2 separate regions of the Homo sapiens genome follow, and region 1 is linked to region 2. The links are contacts of gene promoters, found by promoter capture Hi-C in human tissues and cell types (Jung and others, 2019). All regions are on one chromosome and are shown on one strand. The core of a region is centred on a gene start or on the middle of the fragment in contact, and the rest is flanking DNA. Distances in the headings are between cores, read along the strand shown.

Region 1 (2,813 bases), core at 162-2,661, 140 kb after region 2:
ATAGAGCCAAGGGTTAGAAAGATAGTAGTTTAGCAAAAAATGATTTTAGAATATAGAAATATTATCCCAGTATGCTAATTTGTGCTAATATATTTTCTAATCAAGGTTTATAATTTATAATCTAAGGTCAGTAAAATATAAAGAAAGGCAATAATGTAATTTATTACATTAGCAGGAAAAATAGTAAGAATCATGTGAACATAGCAATAGATACCAAAAAGCATTTAATCAAATTAAAAGTCAATGAAAATGAAATATAAAGGGTGTTTTATAAATGAAGAGTCTTAGAATGAATTGTAAAATTCATTTAAAATAATTTCTTTAAAAATGAATTTTTAAAAGTCCTGTATTTAAAAACAAACCATCATAAATAATAGAAAAACACTGCAGCACTGCTGTTCGAAGTCTGATCCCCTGACCACCTGAAACAGGATCACCTAGAACATTTGTTGAAAATGCAAATCTCTAGCTTCCACCCTGAGCTACTGAAAAAATTTTTGAATCTGAATTTTTAACTAGCATCTCAGGTTCTCAGTTGATTCTTAGAACCACTGTAGTATAGTCATTCTTTTTTTTTTTTTTTAAGAGATGGGGTTGCCTAGGCTGGTCTTGAAGTCTTGGGCTCAAGCAATCCACCCTCCTTGGCCTCCCAAAGTGCTGGGATTACAGGCGTGAGCCACCATGCCCGGCCATTCTTTTATAATACTTTTACATTTTGAAAATTAAAGTAACAGTGAGCATGTTAAAAATCAAATAGTACAGCACAGAATGTAATGAAAAGCAGAGGTTCCTGGTTCCATATCTTCCAACCCTGAGTCCTCTCCTCAAAATCAGCTGCTTTTAAACTTTTCTGTTTTTACATTTTCTGGTGGTTATTTCCATAACTCTGATTAATAGTCATTGTCTTTTAAAACAGTAACAAAATGAGACACACTCCTGTTACCATTCGAGGAAAGACTGTGCTAGAAGTGCTGTCAAAAGTTCTTTAGATAGAACAGAGAAGGAGACAGTCTAATCATAGGAAAATAAAAATCACTGTCACTTTTTTTTAAATTTTTTTTTGTTTTTTGAGATGGAGTTTTACTTTTGTTGCCCAGGCTGAAGTGCAATGGCATGATCTTGGCTCACTGCAGCCTCCGCCTCCCAGGTTCAAGGATTCTCCTGCCTCAGCCTCCCGAGTAGCTGGGATTACAGGTGCCCGAGACAGAGTTGCACCATGTTGGCCAGGCTGGTATCTAACTCCTGACCTCGTGATCTGCCCATCTCGGCCTCCCAAAGTGCTGGGATTACAGGCGTGAGCCACCACACCTGGCCTTGTTGTCACTTTTTAATGTGACATGTATGTTTAGCTAAAAGCACTAGAGATAACAGTTAGATAAAAATATAGAGGATAAGGGCCAGGCATGGTGGCTTACGCTTGTAATCCTAGCACTTTGGGAGGCTGAAGTGGGCAGATCATGAGGTCAGGAGATGGAGACCATCCTGGCTAACACGGTGAAATCCTGTCTCTACTAAAAATACAAAAAAAAAAAAAAAATTAGCCAGGCGTGGGTGGTGGGCACCTGTAGTCCCAGCTACTTGGGAGGCTGAGGCAGGAGAATGGTGTGAACCCGGGAGGTGGAGCTTGCAGTGAGCCAAGATCGCGCCACTGCACTCCAGCCTGGGCAACAGAGCGAGACTCCGTCTCAAAAAAAAGAAAAAAAATATATAGATAGATAGAGAGAGAGAGGATAAGGTAAATACTCAAAAATCGATAGCATTTCCTATTTTCTATTGACCCAGGCTTAGGGAATACAATAATTTTTTTTGTTGTTGTTCCACTCTGTCGCCAGGCTGGAGTGCAGTGGCGTGATCTCGCCTCACTGCAACCTCCGCATCCCAGGTTCAAGCTATTCTCTTGCCTCAGCCTCCCAAGTAGCTGGAACTACAGGTGAGCACCACCATGCCCAGCTAATTTTTGTATTTTTGGTACAGGTGGGGTTTCATTATGTTGGCCAGGGTGGTCTCGATCTCTTGTCCTCCTGATCCACCTGCCTTGGCCTCCCAAAGTAAAATAATTTTATGAAGTACAATGAAACAAATACTTGGATAACTGAATTTGGGGGAAAGAAAAGGTTATTTTGAAATTTTAGGAAGAAAATAAATGAGTAAAAGAGTCATAATTTGCTTCTAATGTTAAAGGCTAAATGCAATAGAAATAACACTTTTCATATTAATGTACCAGTTAAAGCACTATTCTTTAATAAAAAGAGCCTTTTATTAAAGGCTCTTTAGGATTTTATAGAAGTTGATGACACACTGATAAAGAAATTACTTTGAAAAATAAAAGGTCAGACACCAAAAATATTAATGTGTTTATTTTACTTATTTATTTTTAAAGACAGTCTTACTCTATTGCCCAGGCTGGAGTGCAATGGCACAATCAGAGCTCACTGTAGCTTCCAACTCTGGGCTCAAATGATCCTCCCACTTCAGCCTCCTGAGTAGCTGAGACTGTAGGCATGCACCACCACACTTGGCTAAATTATGTTTAATTTTTATGCTAGAGTACCAATATCAGACACTGTTTTACAAAATGGAAACAATCCAAATCAGTAGTTATTAAATCAAATCCATGGAGAATGTAATAAAATAGATTTCAAAAGTAAATCCCAACTATCATAAGAATTTAGTATGTGACAAGTCAAAAGCAAAACAATTGCTAGTCCTGGCATGAAGGATTTGGATGAGGTGGAAGTCTGAGATATCTCTCTTGCTGTCAGCTGGATTCCATCAGGTGACAGGTTTCCTATGTAATCTGGGAGATGTGTCAC
Region 2 (2,838 bases), core at 180-2,679:
CTTCATTGCAATGGTTCCTATTTTGATTAATAAAGATGTGTTTGAGGCTGGGCGCGGTGGCTCATGCCTGTAATCCCAGCACTTTGGGAGGCTGAGGCAGGTGGATCATGAGGTCAGGAGATCGAGACCATCCTGGCCAACATGGTGAAACCCTGTCTCTACTAAAAATACAAAAATTTGCCAGGTGTGGTGGCGTGCACCTGTAGTCCCAGCTACTCAGGAGGCTGAGGCAGGAGAATTGCTTGAACCTGGGAGGCAGAGGTTGTAGTGAGCTGAGATCCTGCCACTGCACTCCAGCCTGGGCGACAGAGTGAGTCTCCATCTCAGAAAAAAAAAATGTGTTTGAGCCTAGTTATAATGATTTAAAATTCATGGTCCGACACCGCAATTACTTTTGCACCAACCTAATTGATGTCTAAGTAGGTCATATTCTACCTGCAAAAAGAAAATTTCATCTATCCCTTTCACATAGATGGAAACCCACTATCTCCAGTGGACAGTTAACACCAAAGGCATCACAGAGAACTCATGGAGCTCAGCTGAGGAGGTTTCAGGGATTTTTCTATTTCCTTTTCTTGATTATGAGAGTCTGGGACTAGATGCTCTCCAGACCTGTGCCTAAAGACTCTTCAACCCTTTGAGATGGAGATGAGGGAGGGAATAGGGAACCCAGTTTAGTTTGGATTTCAGATCCTTTTGTGGGTCATAAGCGTGATGATTGGGTTTCCATGTTCACGTGTGAGATATGCCTCCCTCAAACCTTGTTACAATGACATGGGCACCTTACCTATCTGACATGAGAAAAACAAATGTGGATTTCAGATAAACAAAAAATAACTCTTTTAGTGTATATGTCCCATAGAATATGTGGACATATTTATCCTAAAAATATTGTATGGGACATAGTTGTATTAAGAAACTGTTCATTGTTTATCTGAAGTTCAAATTTAACTGGGCATCCTCCTCAGCTGAGCTCCATGAGTTCTCTGTGATGCCTTTGGTGTTAACTGTCCACTGGAGATAGTGGGTTTCCATCTATGTGAAAGGGATAGATGAAATTTTCTTTTTGCAGGTAGAATATGACCTACTTAGACATCAATTAGGTTGGTGCAAAAGTAATTGTGGTGTCGGACCATGAATTTTAAATCATTATAACTAGGCTCATGTCATATTTTATGTGACATGGCAATCCTATGGAGGAGGGACCAACATTTAAAATAAATGGCTTCCCTAGGATAGAGCACTGGGACTGGGGAAAACAGAGGCCACAGTCAGCTGTGACTTTTTGAAGGAAGGAATAAAGTTGGTTTCTTTCATGCCAATTTAGCAATTACAGACGACCCCGTCAGAAATCTAAACCCGTGACTATCATGGGACTCAAAACCAGGAAAAAAAATAAGTCAAAACGATTAAGAGCCAGAGAAGCAGTCTTCATACACGCGGCCAGCCAGCAGACAGAGGACTCTCATTAAGGAAGGTAAGAGCGTTGCCTTCTCGCCATAATCATAGTCCTCTTCTCCCAGAATAGGATTTGGGAAATTCTGGCTAAGTCCTCTGCCTACCCTCATTGCCCCGCTGATGTGTGACATCAACAGAATTTCTCCGCAACGTTTGTCAGTCTCCAACCTCAGAGGGCTCACAAAGCCTCCTCCTGAATCCTCTCTCAGTCCTCCAACACTACCAAGAAGAAAAGCAATTATTCAGGATGGCATCTTGCTGGGGAGAAGCAGCCTCCCTGAGGTAGATGTGTTCTCCTGTCACTTAAAGAACCACTTCTCCTGGTCTGAGTAGTAAGAGGCGCATTTGCTGTTGCTGCACCATTTGCCAAGGCTCTGAGTTTGAGGTATGGGATGTATTAAAACAATTTAATGAAGAATTAAGATTCCATTCTGTCATTTTGAACACAGGGTTCAGTCCTATATTATTCACTTGAGAGGACTGGTGAGTTTGACTTTCATTTCTTTTTTACAACTGGGAAGGGCAAATTACACATAAAATGTCCCAGTGGAAAGGGGTCATGTGTCGAAATCCCCACTCTTCTGTCTCACCTCTCCCTGTTGTTTTAAACTGGGGCTCATTAATATAATTCTATGGGGATCACACCTTTGAAATTCATGAGGACAGTAAGAGAGCAGAAAAATACACAATAATAAGGAAAGGAGCTTCCATTATTGGTTTTTAATGAGCGTACTTGAATTACGGCCACTGCAGTTTATGGATATTTTTTGTTGTTCATTTGTATGTGTTATAGTTAGAAAAAAAAAGAATCCTAGCCAAGGGACTTGAACCAGAGAGAAGCAGAAATTGACTTAAGTAGGAAGGGAAACACATTGTTAGATAAAGTCAGGTCCTGGGCTTCCTCGGCTTGTTTTGGGTGGAGTGCCTGGGGACAGGCTGAAGCCCCTGTGTGGGGTGGTTTCCTTTGCTGAAAAGCTGGGCTGGAAGATGTTGTGCTCAGTGCTCAACCTCATGCACCCTCGCGAGGCACAGGCAACGGGTGCTCTGGGAAACACACGTTATGTATCATAGCCTCTGTTTGTCTGTGGGATTGATATCCAACAATAACTTTGGAGAAAAATAACTCCTCTAATTTTGTTAGCCACAGCCCTGGGCCAGGGAAGGTGGAGAATCAGTGAAAATGCATTTTGTTTGTTTCTCTAGAAGTTTATGGTGCAGAGTCAAATTGAAGGCAAATGAGGAATATTTTTTCACCAAATAATAACTCAACTTGCAAGTCTTTTTTGCTTTTGTTTGTAGTTTCTTCTTTGAACTTAATTTTCAGTTAGTAGGAGGGGTTAGAAACCTGAGCTATTGCTAAAGCCCTTGATATGAATGAAA

Evidence for each region. The method cuts DNA at HindIII sites, captures the fragments that hold promoters and counts their contacts. A contact is called where the count stands out against the background at its distance.
Region 1: a fragment that was not itself captured here is called in contact with the fragment with the promoter of MLANA in region 2 in 2 of the 25 tissues and cell types used here (heart left ventricle and mesenchymal stem cells).

The regions. Positions count from the first base shown.
Region 1 is chr9:6,030,589-6,033,401 of GRCh38, forward strand. No RefSeq gene overlaps it. Among named protein-coding and RNA genes, the nearest start is that of RANBP6, 16 kb to the left of the region's middle. The HindIII fragment of the contact is 4,860 bases long and covers 1-2,813 here.
Region 2 is chr9:5,889,460-5,892,297 of GRCh38, forward strand. It overlaps MLANA (melan-A), which reads left to right and starts at 1,430. Exons shown (of 5, transcript NM_005511.2): 1 at 1,430-1,477. LOC124902341 (small nucleolar RNA U13) reads left to right here and starts at 691; the gene lies at 691-797. It also overlaps a transcript of BRD10 not described here. The HindIII fragment of the contact is 14,558 bases long and covers 1-2,838 here.